Linked DNA regions of Homo sapiens: regions 1, 2, 3, 4, 6 and 7 are each linked to region 5. Evidence: promoter capture Hi-C in human tissues and cell types (Jung and others, 2019). All regions are on one chromosome and are shown on one strand. The core of a region is centred on a gene start or on the middle of the fragment in contact, and the rest is flanking DNA. Distances in the headings are between cores, read along the strand shown. Region 1 overlaps KIF1B (kinesin family member 1B). Region 2 overlaps KIF1B (kinesin family member 1B). Region 3 overlaps KIF1B (kinesin family member 1B). Region 4 overlaps KIF1B (kinesin family member 1B). Region 5 holds the start of CTNNBIP1 (catenin beta interacting protein 1). Region 6 overlaps KIF1B (kinesin family member 1B). Region 7 holds the start of PGD (phosphogluconate dehydrogenase).

Region 1 (3,660 bases), core at 547-3,046, 360 kb before region 5:
AAATAATCCAATTATTAAAGCAAAGACTAAAAGTAAAAAGGTCTAAGAAAGAGATATGATTTGGTAATTTAGAAAGATGAATGTTCTATTAAGTCTACTTATTCTGCTTTCTTCATGATCCTTCTTATTACCACAGGACAAAGCAAAAAGCACCAATGAAAAGGCAGTGCTTAAATGAAAAAAAATTATATTCTCTAAAAGTAAAAATTAATGCAAATGCTTTACAGGTAACAGCTACTCAAATATATGCTGGCTGACTACTGCGTTGTGACACTTTAAGAAGATATTAAGGGGAGGCCGGGCACAGTGGCTCATGCCTGTAATCCCAGTACTTTGGGAGGCCGAGGTGGGTGGATCACTTGAGGTCAGGAGTTCGAGACCAGCCTGGCCAACGTGATGAAACCCCATCTCTACTAAAAATACAAAAAATTAGCCGGGGGTGGTGGCGGGCACCTGTAATCTCAGCTACTTGGGAGGCTGAGGCAGGACAATCGCTTGAACCCAGAAGGTGGAGGTTGCACTGAGCCGAGATCGTGCCACTGTACCCCAGCCTGGGCAGCAGTGAGAGACCTGGTCTCCAAAAAAAAAAAAAAAAAAAGAAGCTACTAAGGAGAAAGCCAGGGTCTCACTGCTAAACACCACTCCAGCAAATCAGCAGTTTTATAATTCAGTCCTGGTATAATCCAAGGTTAAACTAAGGATGATCCTACTATTGCACAAGCACTTTTTCTATTCAGAAAAAGGGTACTACATGGCTGGCCTCTTAGTGGCTAGTCTTGTGGTGTTTGTTGGGTTTTTTTTTTTTTTTTTTTTTTTTTTTTTTGAGGAGGAGGAGGAAAGGGAGTAGGCAAGAAACATTTTAATTCCATCTCTTATTAAATATGTCCACATCATCATCATCTCATTCCACTCTACCCACAGACACACAATCCACCAATCAGAAAGTCATTTCCAATAGCAGGTTCAATTTTAGATTGCACAGACCTCAAGGGAGAATTAAGCCTTTCAGTCATTCAGATTAGTGGAACAAACTTTCACTCCACTATGTAATCCTTGAGGCCTAAAACTTCAGTTTAAAACCCGTGAATAGTTGGGACACTATGGGCACGCGCTACCACACCCAGCTAATTTTTGTATTTTTAGTAGAGACAGAGTTTCACCATGTTGGCCAGACTGGTCTCAAACTTCTGACCTCAAATGATCCGCCCGCCTTGGCCTCCCAAAGTGCTGGGATTACAGGCATGAGCCACCATGCTCGGCCTTGTTCCTTTATTCTTAATTCCTTCTCCAAAGCATATCATGTTCTAGAAATTAATTTTGGTGTGAAACCTCATGATTTGTGGTCACCCTAAATTTACAGCCACTCTAAATTCCAGAGCCAGAGAACAAATGATGAAAAGATTTTTGAAGGTTCCATTCCTACTTATGCCTCCATACATCCTAGTGAGGATTTAAAACATAAAAGTCAATTCTAGTTTATCTCTACCAATCCCCACTGTACCTTGCTAGTGCAGTTATCCTACAGGTGAAAGCATTTAAAGGAGAAAATAAGAACACAGGATAAGCCTCCAAGTAGAAAATTAGATTTTGTTTAAATTTCATGTCATAGATTATGATTTCTCCAAGGCAAGCAAGAAAGCATTTCATTCTTCTTAGCAATTAAAAAGAGGTTTTAAACTAAACTAGAACACACAATGACTAATTTAAATAATGTAGACAACAAAGCCCCTAATTTAAAAAAAATAGTTTTAGTTTTACTGTTCTACCATAAAGGAGTAGGAAAGAACAAAACTATTGGGGGAAAAAAAAAAAAAAAACTACTGGCCCTCAAATCAACAGCATTCACCAAAGCCAAACTGCTCAAAATACTCCAAAAGATACTGCATCTTACTCAGAAAAGATTATACAGGAAAAGAAGAGACAATAAATATACTTGGTTTTTGTGAGAAACATAAAATAAGGCTCAAAAAAATGAGTCAAACCTTCAGTGTTTGCTCTAGTTTTTACAGATCTATATTTACTTTTGTTCTCCTTAGTATCTTTTACTTTCAGTACAAAGTCAAACTGTGTTATACCTAGTATCTTATCTGAAAAGCTCTAAAAGGAGAAAGGCAAGATTACAGAAAAGGGCCACAAAAAGACAGCCTTCATAAACAATAATAAAATATCATCAAGTATATTTGCTGAACAGACACAACTCCCCTTATAATGAAGTATAAAACTTACCACCTCGGCCAAGGCTGAAATGACTTTGCCCAAAGTTGTAAGAGACTTATTAATATTTGCTCCTTCCTAAAATAAATACCAAATATGAAAGAATGATGAAGAATTTCTACTACTGCTATATCATACAGAACATAAAATATGATTTGCCATATGCTAGCATATTTCTTTATTACAAGTTCTAAAAACAACCTTTAGTCCTCCATCTGTCCTCTTTTCCACTTGATAATAACATGCTGAGACCACATGCCTAACTCACAGTCCTGAAGTATCTTCGAGATATTTGTGCTCCAAAAGCTTACAGATGTGTGCAGCCTTCTTCCCTCAACTTATCGACATGAAATTTCTGTTCTCACATCTGAATCTTGTATATCCTATTCCCACTGCCATCTCTTAATTCCATCTAGCCAAATTCTACCTGTTCCTTAAAATGCAATTCAACTCTCACCCTGACTATGATGTGCTCCCTAACTATTTAGTTAGATAACTTATCCTTCCATTGAAGTTACAGATCAGGAGTCAGCAAAATTTTTCCGTAGAAGGACAGACACAAATTATTTTAGGTTTTCTGGGCCATACGGTCTCTGTCACAACACTGCCATTGTAGTGCAAAAGCAGCCATAGACAATACATAAACAAATGTATGTAGCTGTGTTTCAATAAAATTTTATTTACAAAAACAGGTAGTGGCCATTTATTGATCAGGCCATTTATTTGCTAAAATAAATACCTTTAATCGAGTCCCTTTGGCACCAGTTGAATCAGCTCGTTCACTTCCTGCTAGATCCACCAAGCTGATTTTACTGACCTGATAAAGAACAATAACATGGGGGCAATTCAAAAATAAGCAAGATAGAAGCAGGAAATATTTAGAGGCAGAATGCTTTTTAAAAGATTAAGGTATGGAAAAAACTAAAAGTATTAGAGCTTTTAAATATGGCACAAAAAGATCAAGACAACATCTATCAGTTAGTTTAAACAGTACACACGGCAGGTGCAATGGCACATGCCTGTAGTCCCAGCTACTCAGGAAGCTCCTTTGAGCCCAGGAGTTCAAAGCTGTCTGCTGCACTCCAGCCTGGCAACATATAACACCCTTGTGTCTCTAAAAAAAAATTTTTTTTAATTAAAAAAAAAAAGAGCATGCACAAAATTCATAGCAATTATCACGGTTCAAAAAAAAGTAACTTTAGGATAAACATGACATAATTTACTAGAGTATGTTATAAAAATATATAAAACTCATCAACTCATTAAATGGCTTACTAAAAGTGAAGCTTTAAGCAACTGGAACAATCACATATTTCTGGTGGGAATGTAAAATGGTACAATCACTTTGGAAAACAATTTGACATTTATTTTCTTTCCTTTTTTTTTTTTTTTTGAGACAGAGTCTCGCTCTGTCACCCAGGCTGGAATGCAATGGTGCAATCTTGG
Region 2 (3,599 bases), core at 70-2,569, 340 kb before region 5:
TATACATGGAACATGAAAAACCAGACCAACAGCATTAACTGCGTGTTACCAGTATTCAGAACAGACCCTGGTATAAAGTAGATGCTCAGTAAATATTCTGTGACAATGTTTATCCTCCTTAGGTAAGTTACCAGCCAAAATTTGGAAATGAACGACATTTCTATTTCTTTTCTTTTTGAAGACAGAGTCTTGCTCTATTCCCCAAGCTGGAGTGCAGTGGTGTGATCTCGGCTCACTGCAACCACCTCATCCCGGGTTCAAGAAATTCTCCCGCCTCAGCCTCCTGAGTAGCTGGGATTACTGGCATCCACCACTACAACTGGCTAATTTTTTTATTTTTAGTAGAGACAGGGTTTCACCATGTTGGCCAGGCTGGTCTCGAACTCCTGACCTCAGGTGATCTGCGCATCTCCGCCTCCCTAACTGCTGGGATTACAGGCGTGAGCCACTGCACCTGGCCCACATTACTATTTCAAGGCACCCGTTAAGCCCTGAAATATTGGAACACATCAGAAATGGAGCTGGGCGCGGTGGCTCCCACTTGTAATCCCAGCACTTTGGGAGGCCAAGGCAGGTGTATCACTTGAGGTCAGGAATTCGAGACTAGCCTGGCGAACATGGTGAAACCCCATCTCTACCAAAAACACAAAAATTAGCCAGAAATAGTGGTGTGTGCCTATAATCCCAGCTACTGGGGAGGTTGAGGCAGGAGAATCACTTGAACCCGGGAGGCAGAGGTTGCACTGAGCTGATATTAATGCACTGCACTCCAGCCTGGGTGACAGAGTAAGACTTCATCTCAAGAAAAAAAAGAGAAATGAAAATTAGAAAGTTATTGAATGAATCCAACCACTATTTGAAAGCAGCTTTTTTTTTTTTTTTTTTTTTTTTGAGACAGAGTCTCCCTCTGTCGCCCTAGCTGAAGGGGAGTGGCACGATCTCGGCTCACTGCAAGCTCCACCTCCCAGGTTCACGCCATTCTCCTGCCTCAGCCTCCTGAGTAGCTAGGACTACAGGCGCCCGCCACCACGCCCAGCTAATTTTTTTGTATTTTTAGTAGAGACGGGGTTTCACCGTGTTAGCCAGGATGGTCTTGATCTCCTGACCTTGTGATCCACCCGCCTCGGCCTCCCAAAGTGCTGGGATTACAAGCGTGAGCCACCGCGCCTGGCCATGAAAGCTCTTTTTAAAGATCTTACTATGTACTTCAGAAAAGCATTTGGTAATGAAGCATTCATTACAAATACAGTGTTATTTCTGAAATCTAAGGTTGACAAGTATGTAAATGATTAGTGTGTGTGTATTTATGTAATGTAGTATATAGTGGAATCACAGACTAAGTCATTTTGGAGTGTAATTAACTGCATGTTACCAGTATTCAGAAAAGACCCTGGTATAAAGTAGATGCTCAGTAAATACTCTGTGATAATGTTTATCCATCCTAGGTAAGTTAGCAGCCAAAATTTGGAAATGAACCACATTACAGCAAAATTACTTTTTTGACTGAAATGCATGAAGTCTCACCACCCACATTAAAAGTGATTTATCATGTCATTAATCCAGTCACACTATATTTCAGGGACTGACTATGAATGCTTTAAAGCTTAATCTTTCTCCCTCACTCATACACACAAAGCTTTAGCTCCTCATATTTGAAATGAAACAGAATCTTTATGGCATGTGGTCATGAAATCTCCTCAAAGACTGGATATCTCAACCAATCTACTCCTTTGAGATGTGGCAAGGCCACATCCCAGGCTATCAGTGAGATCAGGATTAAAAAATAAATCTGTCTCGCACAGCTGTTGCTCAGTACACAAATAGCAACAGTTGCTACGGTGCTTAGTTCTCTCTCTTGCTGGATTCCACTGGGTACAGCCACGCATTTATGTTCCAACCTCAAATGCTGACAGAGTATTAATAAAGCTCACACTGTACATAATCATGTGACAAGGAGACATGGTTCTAGAAGGAACATCTCTCCACATGCAAATGGTAATCCAAGCAAAGAAGTATACTTCTAACCAAAGAGGAATTAAATGCAAGATTTAAAAAACAGCCAACATTCACAGAACACTTACTCTGAGCCATAAGTACTTTCTGTCTACGAACCTTTTTTTTTCCTGAGACAGGATCTAACTCTGAGGCCCAGACTGGAGTACAGTGGTACAACCACAATTCACTACAGACTCAACCTCCTGGGCTCCAGTGATCCTCCCACCTCAGCCTCTGGAGTAGATGGGACCACAGGTTCATGCCACTACACCCGGCTAATTATTTTTCTTTTTTGTAGAGATGGGAGTCTCACTATGTTGCCCAGGCTGGTCTCAAACTCCTGGGCTCAAGCCATCCTCATGCCTCAGCTTCCCAAAGTGCTGGGATTACAGGTGTGAGCCACCACACCAGACCTACTAACCTATTTGATGCTCCCAAGCACTCAATGAGCCAGATGTTTCATTACCCCCATTTTACAGATAGATAAACCATCACAGAGAGGTTAAATAAGTTATTCATGGCTCCAGAGCTAGCTAGTGGCAGATTCAGGATGCAATTTTGGAGGGTTTGGCTCCAGAGTTCACACTCTTAGCCCAGACACCATCATTTAAATGCTTATTCCCTATATGCAGCATTGTCAAGGCTAAAGGCAGGAAGGCATTTTCATGGAAATACATGTGCACACCTACATGTATGTGGCCACCCCACTAAAATCACACTGTAGGCATTGTTTAAAATTCTCTTTATTGGCCAGGCACAGTGGCTCACATCTGTAATCCCAGTACTTTGGGAGGCTGAGGTGGGCAGATCACCTGAGGTCAGGAGTTGCAGACCAGCCTGTCCAACATGGTGAAACCCCATCTCTGTTAAAAATATAAAAAATCAGTGCAGCGTGGTGGGGCACGCCTGTAATCCCAGCTACTCGGGAGGCTAAGTAAGACAGGAGAATTGCTTGAACCCGAGAGGTGGAGGTTGCAGTGAGCCAAGATCACACCACTGTACTCCAGCCTGGGTACAAAAGAGCAAAACTCCATCTCAAAACAAAAAAAAACTGTCTTTATGACCTGGCTCGGTGACTCACACTTATAATCCCAGCACTTTGGGAAGCTCAGGCAGGAGGATCGCTGGAGTACAGGAATTTGAGACCAGCCTGGGCAACATGGTGAAATCTCATCTCCACAAAAAATACAAAAGTTAGCTAGGCATGGTGGTGTGTGCCTGCACTCCCAGCTACTCAGGGGGCTTAGGTAGGAAGATCACCTGAGCCCAGGGAGGTCCAGGCTGCAGTTAGCCAAGATTGTGCCACTGCACTCCATCCTGGATGACAGACTAAGACCCTGTCTCAAGTAACAACAGCAACAACAACAACAACAACAACAACAACAAAAACCCCACAAAAACAAAGAACCTCTCATTTAAAAGTGGGAACTGATGGCTGGGCACGGTCACTCACGCCTGTAATCCCAGCACTTTGGGAGGCTGAGGGGGGTTGATCACTTGAGGTCAGGAGTTTGCGACCAGCCTGGCCAACGTGGTGAAACCCCGTCTCTACAAAAAATACAAAAGTTAGCGAGGCATGGTGGCACGCACCTGTAATCCCAGCT
Region 3 (4,124 bases), core at 522-3,021, 390 kb before region 5:
TGGCTTTAAGACATAAAAAGCCCAAAAGAGTACCTCTGTGGACTATTTTTTCAGGCTAAGGCTACCGGGAGATTTAAGTTCATTCTCCATTAAGGAAATTAAAGAATAGTGCTTGGTATCATTGAGACAGAAGCAATTTGGGTGAGTACTGCTCTGTGGAACAGGGAAAGTATGGGAACAAGCTGCCCTTTTCCCAACAGTTTAGCAGATTCAGGACTCCTACCAGTCTCTGCTGCTCCAAAAGAAGATCTGCTTCTTCCTTCTCCTTTTTGTATAAGATCTCCATTTCCTGTAGCCTAGAAGTAAAAAAAAAAAAAAAAATTCAAGAATGCTATTAGTATTACATGTTTAAAAGAAGAAACAGTCATATGGGCTGCGTAACTGTGCATTACCTTTTCTCCATCTCTTGTTTCATATCAATTCCTTGTTTTTCCAGAAGCTCCCTCTGGGCAAATGTCCAGTCCACAGGCTCAGAGGGGGTCTCAGCAGAAGGAGTCTTCTCTCGCTCAGCTCGTGCTTGTTCCGGGTGGTTAAAGCGGAAAACATGGTTTTTACCCATGATGATACGGTTTCCTAGCACAAAACAGAAAAATAGGGTTAAGAAATAATTTTTTTAATATATAGTATCTATTTAACAACCTCACCCCTCCCTAATGTGAAAAGACAGCTTTCAGAGCTGTTGTTTTTACAAGAACAAAAATCCTAATGCTGACTATTACTTCAGCCTTTAAACAGCCAAAAATTAGAGTTGTCACAGAAGCCATGTGCACATTGCTGAAGATGGCAAACCTCTCCCAGTCTCACCTGAGCGCAGCTGAACAGGCTGGGACACCCTCTTGCCATTTACGTAGGTTTCTGAGCGCTCACAGGGCTCTAAGGTCACGATAACTAAGAGGAACAAACACAAACTAATGTTATCATTACAAACTATTGGAATCAAATAATGGAAAGCAGTTGCTTATCAGGATTTGCAGTAAGTAGAATAAATCCCTGCAATCAATCAAGTGGCTGAAGTTGTCTATACAGTAGTTCATTTTGGGGTACCAGAACTAGCCCCAATAGAAGAGGCTATCTGTGGCCATGGCTAACACAAGAACATTTAACTCTATTTGATAAACCTAAGAAGATGATAGGAAATATTAGTTTCAGGGATCTCTGACGGTTCAGTCAATAAAACTCAGAACCATCAGAAATTGTAAGGATGAGATATAGGTAATAACCAGAAACTAAAGACTGAGAAGCTAATATTTTGATAAGGGAATGAGTGACTTATATAACAGAAAAAAACCATTAAATTGTTGTTTTGTTAATAACCCAGGCAAAAATCAAGACTGACTTTTTCTTCCCTTTTAGATAAAAATAAATTCTGCTGGGTTGACTTAATGTCCTTCAAATCTCCTATTACCCAGGATATCTGCTATTTTCTTACTTTTCTATTAAATAATTAACATTCCAGACCAAGCCTAATTGCCTATGTCCTTCTCAGTTCTTGGCAGTAAAAAAGGGCTTCTTTTGTCCAAGCTATTTTCATGTAAAGCAGCCTTGTCCATCTCTGCATTCATAAGCAGCCCAGGTCTCTCCATTTTTCAGAATTAGATTGTATAAGAAAGTACTACTGATAGACAGAGAATACAAAGTCTTAAGGATTTCTCATAATATAAAATGAAAATGTTGTTGCTGAAGCTCCAGCCAGGAATGCTCACCTTCCCCGCTGTTGCTTCTCTCACTCCGGAAGATACAATGCTCTTCTTTAATGTGAGCCCCGCTCAGCACTATGTCCTGGCGCCGCTCAGCATCTGCTTGGCCAACCCTGAACACAAGAGAAAGTGTTTCCCAGGGAAATTCAGACACAGAAAGCACTACAAACAATGAACCTCTTTATTCCAAAGAATATCCTTTGGTACGTACAAAAAAGGTATTGCCTTGTTGCATCAGAAGCTTTCAACTATGAATTCTATCCTCACATATGATCAACCTCTCTACATCAGAATAAGAAACAAGGAGCACTGATATACCAATGTAACTCATACAGTATTATAAAGACATGAGTCAAATAAAATCCCTAAGGAATGTATATTTGTTAAAGGAAAAAAAAATTATTTAGGGTCTTCAGAGAAAAACTACATAGTAACTGGCTCCAGTGGCAAAAACACATTATTTGGAAAGAGAGCATAGTTTGTAACTATTTCAGACAAAAAATACAGCAAATCATTACGTTAATTTTTTCAACCCCTTCCCTTTAGTTATTCAATTATCTAAGAGGGGGAAAACACACGAAGTGACCAAAACAGGAAATAAATATACCTTGTAATTCCATCTTTGATGTAATAAAGTAGGCACTCAGACATTAGTGGGTCTTCATTGAGGTTAACAAGATGTGGGGTCTGAAAAAGATTACAGATGATCAATTTGGAGCAGGGCACCATGAGAGAGCTGTGGTAACAACAGGGGCCTACAAGAGGCCAGGCTTCTCCAACTCTCCACAGAGCCTAGAGAGGGATTTCTTTTTATCCCTAGTTGCGGTTCCATAATAAAGAGAAAACACTCTCTTCAGGCCTCACCAAACGGAACCAAGTGCATTCTATTTTATTTTAATTAATTAATTAATTTGAGACAGAGTCTCGCTCTGTCTAGAGTACAGCGGCATGATTTTGACTCACTGCAACCTCTGCCTTCCAGGTTCAAGTGATTCTCCTGCCTCAGCCTCTCAAGTAGCTGGGATTACAGGTGTTCGCCACCACGCCTGGCTAATTTTTCTATTTTTAGTGGAGGCAGGGTTTCACCATGTTGGCCAGGCTGGTCTCGAACTACTGACCTCAACTGACCCACCCTCCTTGGCCTCCCAAAGTGTTGGGACTATAGGAGTGAGCCACTGTGCCTGGCATTCCATTTTAAAACATGAGTTCTGGGATAAAAAAACAAGACCTAATTTTTGATAAGGTCAAAGCACAAGGAAAAAATGACAGGCCAATTCTCTGAACGGAATAATTATAATTTTTGTAAATGCCTGGGTAAAAATCTCAAGAAATATTTACTTTTATTAAAATGTCCCCATACCCCCCCACCACTTCCCACTATAATTTTTATCAGTTCTTCTGATCCCAGTTATTAATTTGTCTTTACCTTAAAAGATTTTAATTTATTAGTCTTTACCTTAAAGAAAAAAGTAAAATTACTGATATTCGATAAGATAAACATCTTCTAACAATCCTCTTCATCTAACTCTAATATTTCTAAAATCTTTTTAAAAAACCAACCTTCTTTAGTGAAAATAACCCACTGGAATCCAAAAATAAGTCACATGGTCTTGAGGCCAAAATCTACTCAAGAGAGTGCCAGCAAATGTGGAAGAATGAAAGAAGAGTCAGATGAGGGGGTAGGAAAAGGAACTATAAAAGATGGTTAAAGAGAAATCTGAAAAACCTCCACATCTTCTCAACTAGCATCCCCCTTTGTAGTTGAAGAACTTGACTGGTTTGAGAAAGTCAAAGCCCTTTGTGAGTAGCATTCTTTAAAGCACATCATAATTTGAAAAATGGAATCTCAGAAACAGGTCCTAAGACTGAGTTTGGATGTGGTCACTGGTATATCCCTTCCTTTCATGAAGAAGTCTAGAAAGCTAAAGCAAGATGGGTAAAATTAAAGTAAGAAAAAGCTTTGGAAGCAGAGATCTCACTTTGGAATTCCATGCAGTGTACATCTCAACATTTGTTCAAGTTATTTATGATTTATGTTAAATGCATAATATTTTCACTAGTTGTTATAATAAAAATTTTCCAGCCAGGCACAGTGGCTCATGCCTGTAATCCCAGCACTTCGAGAGGCTGAAGTGGGTGGATCACAAAGTCAAGAGATCAAGACCACCCTTGGCCAACATGGTGAAACCGTCTCTACTAAAAATACAAAACTTAGCTGGGCGTGGTGGCATGTGCCTGCAGTCCAGCTACTTGGGAGGCTGAGGCAGGAGAATCACTTGAACCCGGGAGGCGGAGGTTGCAGTGAGCCAAGATCACACCACTGCAGTCCAGCCTGGCGACAGAGTGAGACTCTGTCTCAAAAAAAAAAAAAAAAAAAAATTTCCTCACAGTCTTTAATACTGTAAGATGTTATAAAATACCTTTATT
Region 4 (3,578 bases), core at 53-2,552, 420 kb before region 5:
CTCACGTCTGTAATCCCAGCATTTTGGGAGGCCGAGGCAGGCGGGTCACCTGAGGTCAGGAGTTCGAGACCAGCCTGGCCAACATGGTGAAACCCCATCTCTACTAAAAATACAAAATTTAGCCAGGCACGGTGGCAGGCACCTATAATCCCAGCTACTCGGGGGCGCCGAGGCAGGAGAATCGCTTGAACCCAGGAGGTGAAGGTTGCAGTGAGCCGAGATCGCACCATTGCACTCCAGCCTGGGGGACAAGAGCAAGACTTCGTCTCAAGAGAAAAAAAGAAAAAAGATAAATGTTAAGGGAGAAGATGACAGTTGATGCCTAAAAGGTTTGCGTTTGCTCCTAGAGTTCAAAACCTAATTCAGAAATGCATAAGTGAAAGCTAAATTATAGCTCTAACACTTTATATTTCAAGCAAACTAGCAAAGTCCTATCACATTTGTATTTTCTTCTTTATTGTGTAGCTACTACTTTTTTAAAAAAGCAATAAAAACTGGTGGTCACAAAGCTAGAGTGTTCATTCCAATTAGTGAAAGGGAAATAGAATCTAGTTCCTACTATGATTCCAGTCTTCCCATTTGGTATATGCTGATCTTCGAACATAAGACAAAAGACAAAGACAGACACTTGTATCAATAAATCAAACAAAACCAAGTGACATACATGTTTATCTGATGCTTTTCCTGCTCTGAAATCTATTTTAAAACAAAGAGAGGAGGAGGATAGACTGGGTATTTGGGATTTCAACTCAAAGTAATGAAAATTATGAAAACAGACATAATACATCACAGAAAAACAAATGTTAACATAACTAGAGCATAAATGAAATACAAATGAAACATATAACAAAAATAACTGCAAATGAACATTAAATCAGATGAAATAATGCCACTTCCCTTTCAGTCTGCTCCAAAGCAGGAGAGAGAGAAATGCTAAGAAACAGAGAGTTGAAGCTCTGGTGTAAAAAAACGTAAGAATGAAAAGTTCTAAAAAGTTCTAAACAAGACCCTCAAACAACAACTACTGCAACAGAATTTAAAAGACAAAGAATTTGGCGTAAGGTATCAAATGGATAATTTCACTTTCAAAGTCAACACATACACAGATCACCCTCCTCTATTATGGGCACCCCAGCTAGACTTGCCCATTTCAAGGCCTGGGCCATTAAAGAGCCATCGCACATGTCCCCTGCCTGGAGTCCTCTCTGCACTCGATGCCTACACCTCATGCCTTTGATGTCTTTTTTTTTTTTTTTGAGGTGGGGTTTCACCATGTTGGCCAGGCTGGTCTCAAACTCCTGATCTCAGGTGATTCACCCACCTCAGCCTCCCAAAGTGCTGGGATTACAGGCGTGAGCTACCACACCCAGCCTCACGCCTTTGATTTCACATCTTCAGGTCTTATTTCAAACACCACTTTCTCATAACAGGTCCCCCAACGTTATGTGATCTCCGACAACACACACAACTATTTCATCACTGCTATAATTTACATTTATTTGTGCAATTATTTAATTTATGTCTGTGTCATCCATCAGACTATAAGTCTATGAGGGCAGGAACCATGTCTGGTTTTGCTCACCACTGTCTGCAGAGGGCTGGGCCACTCTATAAATATTTGGTAAGTGAACATCTATGTGCATAAGGGAACAGGAAAATGATTTGCCTCTTATCTTTAAGTAGAAGTGGAAGCTTTTCTAGAAAAATGGGTTATAACAGAAGCAGAAAAGCAAAGCCATCCAACTTATACTAGGTTGATTTTTCAGAGCCACCTCATAATGGATATTAACTATATAGAACACATTTAGATTCCTAACTATATCTATCTTAAAAATAGCTATTCAAAAACAGGAGCCACCTTTTTTTTTTTTAAAGAAAGCTTATATTAAGCACACATTACATTAAAGTACTGTTTGCACACACAGTAAAGATGAGATTGCCTTTCTGCCTATGGCAATGGCTAGTCCAAGTGTGGGAGCATTGAAGGCCATTATTATAGATTTCCCTTTTTAGATAATTCTGTAATTCTATGGCAGGGACATCAGCTCCATGACTACACAATCACACATTCACTAGATAGCACCTTGTTATGTTACCAGAATATAGCCCTTAGCTCCAAATCAATGCTATATAAACATTCTATTCTGAAGCTTTTTAAACAGAATTTTCATAATTACTCTGCATTTTTGAGAATCCTTATACTTTGACCTAGCAGACTGAAGGAGAACAGGGATGAGAGAGGGGAATATGGAAAGGATACGTTAGCAGAAAGTTCAATGAAGTTACTTCAAAAAGTGGAACAAACTGGTCAACATAAAGATAAGAAAAATTAGCAAAATTATGGTGCTACTTATAGAAAGAATGTCAGTTAAGGTACTTAGAGAGATCACAGAATCATCATCTTTAACCCCCTTTTAACCCAGAAGACTAGCTTAAATATTTTACATTTCATCCCAAATTATGATGGATGGTTCATAACATCCCAGCATGCCATAAGAGAATAGCTAAAGGGACAAGCTCTTTTTCACTTGCAATATAAAGTTTTAGCAGAGGCAGTCATGGCTAAAAAACAAACTTACTAATGGAATTTCACAAGAAACTAATTTTTTTTTCCCCCTAGACAGAGTCTTTGCTCTGTTGCCCAGGCTGAAGTGCAGTGGCGCGATCTCGGCTCACTGCAACCTCCCCCTCCCGGGTTCAAGCAATTCTCCTGCCTCAGCCTCCTGAGTAGCTGGGATTACAGGCACAAACCACCATGCCTGGCTAATATTTGTATTCTTAGTAGAGACGAGGTTTCACCATGTTGGCCAGGCTGGTTTCGAACTCTTGACCTCATGATCTGCCCACCTCGGCCTCCCAAAGTGCTGGGATTACGGGAGTGAGCCACCGCACCCAGCCAGAAACTAAAAATTTTACAAGTGATTTATATTGGCAATTATATGCCAATAGGAGAAATCCAATCTTGTGAATCACAAAAACAGGAAAGTAGTTACTTTCCTTACACATACAATGACCACTACACAACTGGGTGATGTTGCATTATTGTAAATTTTGTTTGTAGAAGAGAAATGTAGTCAAGGGCAAAAATGGAAAGCTATCCTTCACTTTACTGATTGCTATTATATTATTTCACTTCCTCCCCCAGTCCTTTCTTGCAAGGTTAGAACTTGGGAACCTAAACAAATGGAAAAATCAATTCCTGAGCCACAGCTCCATAAGTATTTTATGTGAAAATCAAAATAGAGTTGATTGCTTTATACCTATACTTACATCTGACATGATTAAAAGAAAGAAAACTATAAAACTAGAGAGAAAACAATACATGTATCCTCAGTTAATTTCCACATTAAGTGGGATTGTCTTGAGTTTCCACACAACTTCCTCAAAATACAAATGCTTCTTAGTAGAAGTCTTAACCAGGATATTCATTTTTGCTAGTGTAGATGACAGAATATGAAAGTTGAAAAAGATCTTTATGGCTCTTTATTTCTACCTGTTATTCACTTTACACTTGAGAGCCCAAAGGCTTCACTTTAAGTTGCTTGTCATAGTGACAGAGATGGCCTAGGACCCAAGGC
Region 5 (3,648 bases), core at 1,033-3,532:
GATCAAGGAACAGGCACAAGGCCCATATGTGGCTAGAGCCCAGTTGGCAAAAGTGGTTCAAGATCAGGCTGTAGCCAGATCCTGTAAGGCCTTGTTGCCACACTAAGGACTTTGAACTTCCTCGTGAAAATGAAGAGAAGTCGTTGAATAGCGCAGGTCTGACAAGATTTTAAGAAGTTTCCTTTAGTTGCTGTGTGGGCAGTGAATGGGGGCGTAAGGAGAGCCTAAAGGAGAGACTGCTTGAAGGGTTATTGCAGGAGTCAAGGTGATAGCTGGTGGCAGGTTAAACTGGGAAAGAGGGGTAGAGATGGTAGGAGGTGGAGAGATTAAGGACACCATTTAGAATTGGAAACAACATGGACTGGAAATGAAGAATAAAGGAAAGAGTGGTGTCAACGGTACAATTTAAGTGTCTGGTGTAAGCAACTGGGTAGAGAGTGGTGCCAGTTACTGAAGGTGGGGACACTGTAGGAGAAACCCACTTGGGGACCAATTTTTTTTTTTTTTTTTTTTTCAGACAGAGTTTCGCTCTTGTTGCCCAGGCTGGAGTGCAATGGCGCAATCTCGGCTCACTGCACCCTCGCCTCCCGGGTTCAAGCGATTTTCCTGCCTCAGTCTCCTGAGTAGCTGGGATTACAGGCATGCGCCACCACGCCCGGCTAATTTTTGTATTTTTAGTAGAGACGGGGTTTCTTCATGTTGGTCAGGCTGGTCTCCAACTCCCGACCTCAGGTGATCTGTCTGCCTTGGCCTCCCAAAGTGCTGAGATTACAGGCATGAGCCACTGCGCCCGGCCGGGGACCTATTAAGTATGAAAAAGTGTGAGCAGGCCGGGTGCGGTGTCTCAGGCCTGTAATCCTAGCATTTTGGGAGGCCGAGGCGGGCAGACCACTTGGGGTCAGAAGTTGGAGACCAGCCTGGCCAACATAGAGAAAACCCGTCTCTACTAAAAATACAAAAATTAGCCGGGGCGCATGCCGGTAATCCCATCTACTCAGGAGGCTGAGGCAGGAGAATCGCTTGAACCCGGGAAGCGGAGGTTGCGGTGAGCCAAGATCGCGCCACTGCACCTGAGCCTGGGCGACAGAGCGAGACTCCCTCTCAAAAACAAAAAAACCCCCCAAATGAGTAAAGAGTAATGTGGATATTATATTATAAACGAACAAACAAAAAAGGACTTCGTATTCTTTTTGCATAGGGAAGGGGAAGAAATGTGGAGTGGAAGAGGATGGTACAGAAAAGGTGTAAAAAGAAAGGCTGTGGGAGGAGTAGGGTAGGAGGGCTTCTGAACTGGGGTTAGTGTCACACTGTGTAACTGATAATTTAAACTGCTGAAAATGAGACCACACTTAAAGATACAGGTCCCTTTAAAAGGAAGGCGGATGTTAAAAGCAATTTGCATTTTACCTAAAATGGGCTGCTTCTCCCTGTACCCTCTCCAAATACAGCCAGACTTTCTGTAGAAACATTTTAATCATGGGCACCCTTCCCCCGAAAAATCCACTCACTACCAGTACACACGACCTTCTGAGTTTAATGGACCTACGGAGGCCCATCCCTGGGCTCTCTGGGCTAGGTTAATCCCAGGTTAGGCCCCAAGCTCAGAGGTAGCAACGTTCCCAGCTCAACGACGCAGGAAGACCACGCCTCTAAATGTTCTGCAACCTCGTCCATTTCAGAATTTTCCGGGGTTCTGGGTAAACTGGCCTCACCAAGGATTCTGCCCCGTCTTGTTGCTCCCGTTTTTAAACACAGACCGGTGTGTGGGAGAGGCCATTATTTTTCCGGAACACTGTGCTCCTGGAGCAGATAGGGACACGCAGAGTGGCTTTACCGCAGCGCCAGCTTCAGCCTTACCCGGCTCCTCCTCCAGGCCACCGCCTCCTCCTCGCGCCCAACCCGCCTTCCCTGCTCACCCCCGGCCCGCTCCTCCCCTTTGCTCTCAGCGCGGACTCGGCCACTCACTACCGGCGCCGTGTTCCACCCGCCCACCGCATGGCCCCGTCCCTATGTCGCTGGTCTCGCCCCCTTCCAGGAGGGCCCAATGAGCGTTCACATGCGCCACAAGGCCCCGCCCCGCACCGCGCAGCCCCGCCCACAGGCTGAGTTAACCAATTCGCGGCCCCGGGCCCCGCCCCGCCCGCAGGCCCCGCCCCGGCGCCCGGCCCCACGCGCCCGCCTCCCTCCGGGGCGTTGCCGCCGCCGCGCCTCAGCAGCCCGCGCGGAGCCAGATGCCGCCCCCTCCGCCGGTCCCTCCCCCGGCGGCCTGGCGCCTCCCTCCCTCCCCACCGCGGTGACTCTCGGAGCGGGAGGCGGAGGCTGAGGCGGCCGCTCCTGCTGCTGCTACTGCCGCCGCCGCAGCGGCTGCTCGGGCTGAGCACGCCCCGGAACAGGCCGCCGCGCGCTGCGCGCCGGACCCGCTGCCCCTGCCGGCCCGGCCGGGTCGGGCGGCCCAGGTAAGCGCCGAGGCCGGGCCGCGCCTGCACCGCCCGGGCCCGCGCCGCGCCGCGCCGGGGCTTGGGGGAGCGGCCAGCCCTTTGTCTGCCGGGGAGGGGCCGCGGAGAGCGCCCCCGACCCCGCTCGGACCCCTGACTGCCCCAGCGGCGCGGCGCCCTGGTCTGGGCCTGGCCGCCTCTCGCCGCAGACCACCTCCCGCCTCCCTGACTCTTCGCCCGGGGGTCGCCTCCACAGGTGTCCGCGCCGCCCACCTTGTTGCTCACCTCACCGCGTCCGGGTGCCTGTCATCGCCCGTCCGCCCTCCCGACCTCTGGGCCCCTGCCTCTTCCCTCACCTGCGCCCACTCTGAGACTCTTACTCTCCATATTTCCCCAAACTAAACGCTGGGCCGCCCTTCCTCCCTCTGTAGTTTGATTGAACTGTCGTCTCCCGATTCCACCCCTCCCCGGTGAGCCTTCCTGGAAGGTACCTGGTGGGGGCACATATCTCACCTGGATGGCGGGCGTGTATGCACGAACCTGCAAAATTAACCACCTGGAGCCCCAAACTGCACCTCTCACCTCCTTTTCATCACCCCACCCCAACCACCTTCCTTTTTTTGGAACCTGGTAACCGAGACACTCAGGTCTGGACACCCAGCCTCTGCTAGGCCCTCCATCCCTCCCTCTGCCTTGTGAGCTGAACTTGTCTGAGCAGTGCCTGTTGTCAGGTTAGCCCCTGGGAAGGCGGCGGGGGCCGTGTTGGCCGCAAATCAAGAGTTTTATGAATAATGAGACGTGTGGCTTGCACCACCTCCTGTCTGAGGATCTCAGTATGCTCCAGCTGTGAATTATTTTGTCTCCTGTCACTCACAGAACTGAGAGGAACATGTCTGGCCAACTGCTGGGTAAATTGAGGTACAGGGTGTGTGGGTAAGGGACCTGGAGGCAAGTCATGGTTTGTCTTGAAGTTCTGTTCGCAGGAGCCTTGGCTCTTAGCTCCCTGCTACAACCACTGGGCTCCAGTTCCTGGAGTGTGTCCCCAAGTGATAACTGATCTCTTGTGCCATTAAAATGTCCAGAGATACCAGCAGCTTCCTCAGATTTAAAGTAGGACTTTGGATCATAAATAAAGGTGCGGGCTGTTAAATGCCAATGTGTCATTCACGGTTTGCTGGGGGAGTTCGTGGTCCTCCCTTGTAAATACAAATCA
Region 6 (4,053 bases), core at 1,483-3,982, 320 kb before region 5:
CATGGTGGCTCATGCCTGTAATCCCAGCACTTTGGGAAGTCAAGTTGGGCGGATCACTTGAGGTCAGGAGTTCGAGACCAGCCTGGCCAACATGGTAAAACCCCATCTTTACTAAAAATACAAAAATTAGCCAGGCATGGTGGTATGCGCCTGTGATCCCCGCTACTAGGGAGGCTGAGGCAGGAGAATTGCTTGAACCCAGGAGGTGGAGGCTGCAATGAACCTGAGATCCCACCACTGCCCTCCAGCCTGGGCAACAAAGCAAGACACCATCTCACAAAAAAAAAAAAAAAAAAAAAAAGGGCACTGAACTCTCCATACATTAATTATAGTTTGAAACATTTGGTTACATGATGTATATATATTGTGTAATTAAATAGCAAAGGACAAAGACACTTTCTAGTCAATTCGTTTAACTATACAGTGATTTCCTTTAACTTCTGGGTTTTCTTTTGTTTTGTGTTTTTTTAAGACGGAGTTTTGCTCTTGTCGCCCAGGCTGGAGTGCAATGGCACGACCTCGGCTCACTGCAACCTCTGCCTCCCGGATTCAACAATTCTCCTGCCTCAGCCTCCTGAGTACCTGGGATTACTGGCGTACGCCACCACGCCCAGCTAATTTTTGTATTTTTAGTAGAGACGGGGTTTCACCATGTCAACCAGGCTGGTCTCGAACTCCTCACCTCAGATTCACCTGCCTCGGTCTCCCAAAGTGCTGGGATTATAAGCGTGAGTCACTGCGCCTGGCCAATTTCCTTTAACTTCAAAGATCCCTCAGATATGCCACTGACTCATGGCAGAGTCAAATCATTACATTTCACTACTGAATGAAGTAATAGGAAAAATGTGAACATTTTTTAGAGGAATAGTTTCCCTCCCAACAGAACAAAGCCAACACTACTGTGTGAAAAGAATCCAAGTAAGTAACTTCTGTAAGAAACAACCGGCCGCGTGCGGTGGCTCACGCCTGTAATCCCAGCACTTTGGGAGGCCGAGATGGGTGGATCACTTGAGGTCAGGAGATCAAGACCAGCCTAGCCAACACGGTGAAACCCCGTCTCTATTAAAAATACAAAAATTAACCAGGTGTGGTGGCACACACCTGTAATCCCAGCTATTCAGGAGGCTGAGGCAGGAGAATCACTTGAACCCAGGAGGTGGAGGTTGCAGTGAGCTGAGATCGCACCACTGCACTCCAGCCTGGGTCACAGAGTGAGACTCCGTCTCAAAAAAAAAAAGAAAGAAAAAAAAAACAACCAATTTTTCTAGTTAGGAAAAACTCTACACTCTATCCAATATAAAATCTTTTTCAAGAATAACCAAACAAAGGAAAAATCTAAAAAAGAAAAGTAATTACGAATCCAATTATCAGGAACCACAACAGAACTTAAATCTGACCAATATTTTTTCCAGATAATTAGGAATGCTAACCTCCAACTACACAACACCATAACCGATGTGTTCCCGAGAACAGGATAAATAAATAACATAAAAACCAAAGTCACTCTCTACCTCAATGCCCTACCCGTCCAGGCTACTGTACAGTGGCACAATCATAGCTCACTGTAACCTTGAACTCCTGGGCTCAAGTGATCCTCCCACCTCAGCCTCCAAAACAGCTGCGACTACAGGCACACACCAACACACCCAACTAATATTTTATTTTATTTGTAGAGACAAAGTCTTGTTATGTTGCCCAGTCTGTTCTCAAACTCCTGACTCAGCCTCCCAAAGTGCTGGGATTATAGGTGTGAGCCACCACGTCTGGCCCCTAATTTTCTTTTCTTTTTTTTTTTTTTTTTTTTTTTTTTTTGAGACGGAGTCTCACTCCATCACCCAGGAGGCTGGATGGAGTGCAGTGGCGCGATCTCGGCTCACTGCAAACTCCGCCTCCCAGGTTCACGCCATTCTCCTGCCTCAGCCTCCTGAGTAGCTGGGGCTACAGGCGCCTGCCACCACGCCTGGCTAATTTTTTGTATTTTTTTTTTAGTAGAGATGGGGTTTCACCATGTTAGCCAGGATGGTCTCGATCTCCTGACCTCGTGATCCACCCGCCTCAGCCTCCCAAAGTGCTGGGATTACAGGCATGAGCCACCGCACCCGGCTGTCTGGCCCCTAATTTTCTTAATAGCATCATCGCTATTTGAAATTCTTGTTTTCTGGAGCATGTCTATTGTCCATCTCTCACACTGTCTGTCTCTCACTCTACCACCAGAATGCTCAGAGATCTCCTGTCTCGTTTGCTAGCACTTACAACAGTACCTGACATAAGAGCTCAGTAAATGTTGATGAAATGAATGACATACATTTCCCAGTTGTGAGAATTATCTGTTTAAGTCCTTTGCCTAGTTTACTGATTTTTTTGTTTTTTAAATGTTTACATATTTTTATATTAATCTTTTTCTATTTGCTACAATGTTTTTTCTAGTCTGTTTGCCATTTTATTTTAAACTGATGGTTCTTTATTTAAATATCAAATATTTTTATGATCACATGTATCAAATGAAAACTTAGCATTTATTAACCTTCCCAATCAATGGAGCATGACTTATATTCACTAGTTGAGTACTATGCCAAGAGAATGAATGACACATTCAGAAAAAGCAAGACATAAAACACATTGCAACCTCCCCGAGTTCCCTCTGAAATACAGCCATCATCTTAACTCTCCTCATGTCCAAAAAACCATTATCTTCTCCCCTAAACTAGCAATCTCTGCCAATCTTCCCTATCAACAGTATTCTCCCAGGCCCCGATACCATAAATGTTGGAGTCATCTTTGTCACTACTCTTTGAAACCTTGTATTATTACCAACATTATTCACAAAATACCATATGGAAACTTCTAAGATATAAAGTTGCTTTATTCTATCCCTCCCTTCCTCTCATTCCCACTGATATTACCTCAATCCATGTCCTTACTACCACATACCTAGGATACTTGCAATAGCTGGACTGTTCTTTGGGCTTTTAGTCTTTGATCCAATAGTCCTTAAACAGAGTTGTATGAAACAGAATGACACGGGGGCCTTTTGAAAAACAAAGGAGTCTAGACTCTCCCAGTCTAGATAGGCCCCAGATATGGATTTGTTGATTTGGGTTAATTTTCAAAGATTATGTTACAAATACCCAGCTAAAAAGCACTGCTTTAAACCACTGCTTAACCCTGTTGCAAGATCAACCCCTCTAAAGCATGACTTTCAACGTCACTTCCAATAGCAAGAACGTTCTCTTGTTCCTAACATGTAAAAAATACTGCAAATTGATTTTTAAAAGTCAAATATATAAATTCATAAGCTTACGATACTTTTTTTTTTAAAAACTTCATTAATAGATCAATGGTTACAGAGGGAAGAAAATGCATTATCCTGAAAACAGCAAATAAAACAGAATTAAGCATACATCTAGTCTGTATAGCCTGTATAAAATATTCCAGGATAACCAAATAGTCAATGAAAGTAAGTTCTTTTTTTTCTCTTTTCTTTTTTTTTGAGATGGAGTCTCACTCTGTCACCCAGGTCAGGCTGGAGTGCAGTGGCATGATCTTGGCTCACTGCAACCTCCTTTTTCGGGATTCAAGCAATTCTCCTGCCTCAGCCTCCCGAGTAGCTGGGATTACAGAAGCCCACCAGCACGCCCGGGTAATTTTTGTATTATTAGTAGAGACAGGGTTTCACCATGTAGGCCAGGCTGGTCTCAAACTCCTGACCTCATATGATCCGCCCACCTCAGTCTCCCAAAGTGCTAGGATTACAGGTGTGAGCCACAGCACCCGGCTGAGGGTAAGTTCTTTACAGAAAAATTCTAGCTAATAAATGCAGAAGAAATGAAAGAATTATAGAATGTTACCTTTTCCCAACTCTTTTTTTTTTGAGATGAAGTTTCGCTCTTGTCACCCAGGCTGAAGTGCAGTGGCACGATCTTGGCTCACTGCAGCCTCAACCTCATGGGTTCAAGCGATTCTCCTACCTCAGCCTACCGAGTAGCTGGGATTACAGGTGCCCAACACACCACCAGGTTAATTTTTGTGGTTTTAGTAGAGATGGGGTTTCAA
Region 7 (3,822 bases), core at 1,161-3,660, 490 kb before region 5:
ACTCCTCTAGAAAGGAATGCTCAGCCTCCCCTGAGCTATCACTGCACTGCTTACAGCAAAACATTTCTTCTAAATGGGAGTGCCTGGGTTTTTTCAGAGTTGTTACTATAGAATTATTTTGGGTATCTAAACACATTATTTCCACTGGTTCCCCTACTTTTTTCTTCCAAAAAAGATATACCTGCTAAAGCCAACAAATTGTTTGGTACAAAAATAAGCATCCAGTTCCCTAGGATTCCCTAAGGAGATCTTGATTTTATTTTCATTTTTTTTTTGAGACGGAGTCTCGCTCTGTCGCCAAACTGGAGTGGCACAATCTCAGGTCACTGTAACCTCCACCTCCCAGGTTCAAGTGATTCTCATTCCTCAGCCTCCCGAGTAACTGGGATTACAGGCATGAGCCACAAAGCCCAGCTAATTTTTATATTTTTAGTAGAGACGGGGTTTCACCATGTTGGCCAGGCTGGTCTCGAACCTGGGACCATAAGCTTGTAGCTGGGACCATAAGCTTACACCACCATACCCAGCTAATTTTTTAATTTTATGTAGAGACAGGGTTTCGCCATGTTGCCCAGGCTGGTCTCGAACTCCTGGGCTCAAACGATCCATCTGAACCAGCCTCCCAAAAAGTGCTGGGATTACAGGCCTGAGCCACTGTGCCCCGCCTTAATGTTTATTGAAATGTCTGTTAGTATTCTCAGAATTACTACCACCAAAGGACAAAGTTACTTCATAAGCGCTTATCAAGTTAACCAACACTGCAACAGTTAAGCAATCATTTGGTCAGAGCTTAGCAGAAATTGAAAAAAAAAAATCTCTAGAGTTAAAAGAAGGAGAACTAAAGGAAGAAACCAAAAACAGCTGCTATCGTGGTAGCAGCTGAGAGCACAGCTGGCCTCACCAATTTCTCGATGAAATCATCCACAGCTTGCCCAGCCTTCACCAGGAGGATGATCCGCCGGGGCTTCTTCAGCTTGGAGACCATCTCTTTCAGGGACTGGGCACCCACCACTTTGGTTCCCTTTGCCTCATTGGCCAAGAAATCATCAACTTTGGAGACAGTCCTATTAAAAGCACAGACCTAGAAGGACAAAAGTCCTGAGTAGGAGATCCAGGACACACAAGACTTTCAGACTGTGGCCAAAGTAACAATGACCTTTCCATTCAACCCAAGTTCTGGGGAGGTCAGACCTGCCTTTGCCTTTTCTTCCCCCAGCTGTGGGAGGCTCACTGTAAAGTTATGTCACCTCAGTAGGATGAAAACGGCGGACAACCGAGGCGAAGGCCAACTACCCCCGGTGTGTCAGGTAGAATCCACACCCAACGTGTTAGGACTCAAAATCAAATCCAGGAACTGGCCGGTTCAACAGGCTCTATCTGTTGTTATTGATCATCCTGGCGTCTAAGCCACTTTAACATTTAGAAGAAACATTTTCACTCTCCCCAGATCTCATCAGGCAATCAAGTTAGAGCTCTACACAGCCAGCAAGGGTTCTCCTCCCGCACCCTTCTTCTCTACTTAAGACACTAATTCGTTCATTCGGGCTGTGAACCTCACGGACCCACAGGCACACTCCGCAGGACTAAGTTCGGGATCGGCCCGCCCACGCCTACAGGGTGCTTCTCCTTTCCATACAAAAATGCCACGAGCAGCAACAGAGCACATTAGCAAAGCACGGCCAGGAGACCCGTAAGCTCCCAAACCTATCGCCGGCCTCGGCTAAAGCGCCCGGGAACCAGAGAGAAGACAACGCGCCCACGCCGCTTACCACAAAGCCGTGGTCATTCATGTTCAGAATTAAGTTCTGGCCCATGACGGCCAATCCGATCAGCGCGATGTCAGCTCTAGAGAGGCAGAAACAGAACAAAGGAAAGAGTCAGCACCGCTCGACGCGCTGCAACCCAGGGGTCCGGTCCTTCCACATTTGGCCGTGACTGGGAGTCTGCACTTTCCTCCGCGCCTCCCGCGGGCCCCCAGAAGCCGGGCGCGCACGCTGCAGAGCCTCGGCCGGGCAGGCGGCCCCCAGCCCCGCCCTCGCGCCCGGCTCCCGCTGGCACGCGTCCCGCAGGTGTCCCTGCAGACTCGGCGAGGCCTGGCCGCGCCTCCTCCCTGGCCCTCGAAGGGACCCGCCCCGCCCCATGCCTGCGCGGCCGAGAGGGCAGGGGGCCGGGCCCGCAGGGAAGGAGCTCTGGGCCCGAGACGCCGTAGGGCCAGGGTCACAGAGCCCCAAGTGAGCTCAGGCGACCCCCAGGGTGGGAGGCGTCGGAGAGAACGAGGGAGATCTCGACCCCCAAAGAGTTCCCCGCCCGCTGAGGCCGAGCCGGGCTGCCCCTGGCGAGTCACTCACTGGGCCATGGCGGCGGACAGAGCAGAACCGAAGAGCGGCGACGCGCGGAGGACGAGTGAGGGAAAGACCCGCAGCGGCTCCCTCCAGAAACTGCGGCCGCTCACGCCCGGCTTTTCGGCGCCGGCCAATCGAATGGAAGGGGGTGGAGCCATGAAGCCACACCATTGGCTCTCCCCGACGCCTGTTAGACCATCCGAGGCAAACGTGCCCGCCCACCCCCGGGGGCCGGATCAGTGGAGCGCCGAGCACCTAGATGACATTGCCCCGGCGAGGCTCCGGGCTCCCCGCCCACGCGCAGAGCTTTCCGCTCGTCCCAGCTGCACCTCGGTCCTGCAGGCCGTCCGCCTGGCGCAGCTGTAGCCATAGCAACTCACGCAGGACCGCGCTTTACAGTTTACCAGGCACTCGGACGCCTTTGGCGCGAGCGCCCGTCGCTCCTTCCTCAGGTCACTGCGGTGCACCGTGCGGGTCCGCGTCGTGTCCTCCGCTCCGGAGCAGGGACCGGGCGTGCTCGTTCAGTCCTGTGCGCACTCGGAATGGGGCCGGGGAAGGCTGAGCCTCAGGGCGACCCTGATGTGGAGCCGTGCGACCGCTCACTGCGGTTGAAGAGACCCAGGCGCAGACAGCGCAGGCGGGGTATGTATTGGTTGGAGTATGATGGGGTCAGGACTTGAGTCTTTTACCCAGGCCCGGAGTTAACGGTATTGAACCCCTTCTCATTTTGTAGAGGCTATGTGACCCGCGAGATGGACCAGGTTAAATGCAGAGGCAGATACAAAAAACCAGCCATCTTAAGCCAGACATTTGCAAAGTAGCCAAGCAGCGCTTCTTATCTTACTGAGTCCCTTCTTGCTAGGAGGAAATTGTTATTCAGAAGTTTGAGTTTTAGATTTTTTTTGTTTTTTTTGAGACGGAGTCTCGCACTGTCGCCCGGGCTGGAATGCAGTGGTGTGATCTCAGCTCACTGCACCTTCCGCCTCCCGGGTTCAAGCAATTTTCCTGCCTCAGCCTCCCAAGTAGCTGGGATTACAGGCGCCCGCCACCACGCCCAGCTAATTTTTGTATTTTTAGTAGAGATGGGGTTTCACCATCTTGGCCAGGCTGGTCTCAAACTCCTGACCTCGTGATCCGCCCGCCTTGGCCTCCCAAAGTGCTGAGATTACCGGCGTGAGCCACCGTGCCCGGCCTTTTTTTGATGTCATTGTTGAGATGGAGTCTGGCTGTGTCTCCAGGCTGGAGGGCAGTGGCGCGATCTGGGCTCACTGCAACCTCCACCTCCCAGGTTCAAGCGATTCTCCTGCCTCAGCCTCCCAAGTAGCTGGGACTACAGGTGTGTGCCACCATGCCCAGCTAATGTTTTTATTTTTAGTAGAGACAGGGTTTCACCATGTTGGCCAGGCTGGTCTCGAACTCCTAACCTCAAGTGATCCACCCACCTCAGCCTCCCAAAGTTCTGGGATTAGAGGTGTGAGCC

Evidence for each region. The method cuts DNA at HindIII sites, captures the fragments that hold promoters and counts their contacts. A contact is called where the count stands out against the background at its distance.
Region 1: a contact is called between a fragment that was not itself captured here and the fragment with the promoter of CTNNBIP1 in region 5, in 1 of the 25 tissues and cell types used here (dorsolateral prefrontal cortex).
Region 2: a fragment that was not itself captured here is called in contact with the fragment with the promoter of CTNNBIP1 in region 5 in 3 of the 25 tissues and cell types used here (IMR-90 fibroblasts, dorsolateral prefrontal cortex and liver).
Region 3: a contact is called between a fragment that was not itself captured here and the fragment with the promoter of CTNNBIP1 in region 5, in 2 of the 25 tissues and cell types used here (dorsolateral prefrontal cortex and hippocampus).
Region 4: a fragment that was not itself captured here is called in contact with the fragment with the promoter of CTNNBIP1 in region 5 in 4 of the 25 tissues and cell types used here (IMR-90 fibroblasts, dorsolateral prefrontal cortex, hippocampus and 1 more).
Region 6: a fragment that was not itself captured here is called in contact with the fragment with the promoter of CTNNBIP1 in region 5 in 2 of the 25 tissues and cell types used here (heart right ventricle and hippocampus).
Region 7: the fragment with the promoter of PGD here is called in contact with the fragment with the promoter of CTNNBIP1 in region 5 in 4 of the 25 tissues and cell types used here (IMR-90 fibroblasts, aorta, dorsolateral prefrontal cortex and 1 more).

The regions. Positions count from the first base shown.
Region 1 is chr1:10,270,873-10,274,532 of GRCh38, reverse strand. KIF1B (kinesin family member 1B) reads right to left here. Exons shown (of 49, transcript NM_001365951.3): 8 at 2,954-3,031; 9 at 2,227-2,292; 10 at 1,502-1,519. Among named protein-coding and RNA genes, the nearest start is that of KIF1B, 62 kb to the right of the region's middle. The HindIII fragment of the contact is 4,387 bases long and covers 1-3,660 here.
Region 2 is chr1:10,252,169-10,255,767 of GRCh38, reverse strand. All of the region lies in intron 2 of KIF1B (kinesin family member 1B), which reads right to left. Among named protein-coding and RNA genes, the nearest start is that of KIF1B, 43 kb to the right of the region's middle. The HindIII fragment of the contact is 6,215 bases long and covers 1-3,599 here.
Region 3 is chr1:10,293,346-10,297,469 of GRCh38, reverse strand. It overlaps KIF1B (kinesin family member 1B), which reads right to left. Exons shown (of 49, transcript NM_001365951.3): 18 at 2,305-2,384; 19 at 1,704-1,810; 20 at 805-888; 21 at 393-573; 22 at 224-296. Among named protein-coding and RNA genes, the nearest start is that of KIF1B, 85 kb to the right of the region's middle. The HindIII fragment of the contact is 6,454 bases long and covers 1-4,124 here.
Region 4 is chr1:10,328,773-10,332,350 of GRCh38, reverse strand. The region is part of intron 27 of KIF1B (kinesin family member 1B); the gene reads right to left. Among named protein-coding and RNA genes, the nearest start is that of PGD, 69 kb to the left of the region's middle. The HindIII fragment of the contact is 6,880 bases long and covers 1-3,578 here.
Region 5 is chr1:9,908,903-9,912,550 of GRCh38, reverse strand. It overlaps CTNNBIP1 (catenin beta interacting protein 1), which reads left to right and starts at 2,282. Exons shown (of 6, transcript NM_020248.3): 1 at 2,282-2,456. RefSeq lists enhancers at 341-1,013, 1,014-1,687 and silencers at 1,835-2,434, 2,445-2,504, 2,675-2,734. The HindIII fragment of the contact is 11,728 bases long and covers 1-3,648 here.
Region 6 is chr1:10,227,627-10,231,679 of GRCh38, reverse strand. The region is part of intron 1 of KIF1B (kinesin family member 1B); the gene reads right to left. Among named protein-coding and RNA genes, the nearest start is that of KIF1B, 19 kb to the right of the region's middle. The HindIII fragment of the contact is 4,198 bases long and covers 634-4,053 here.
Region 7 is chr1:10,397,652-10,401,473 of GRCh38, reverse strand. It overlaps PGD (phosphogluconate dehydrogenase), which reads right to left and starts at 2,410. Exons shown (of 13, transcript NM_002631.4): 1 at 2,349-2,410; 2 at 1,770-1,845; 3 at 902-1,081. The coding sequence starts at 2,356. RefSeq lists silencers at 1,644-1,820, 1,913-2,232 and an enhancer at 2,713-3,022. The HindIII fragment of the contact is 25,181 bases long and covers 1-3,822 here.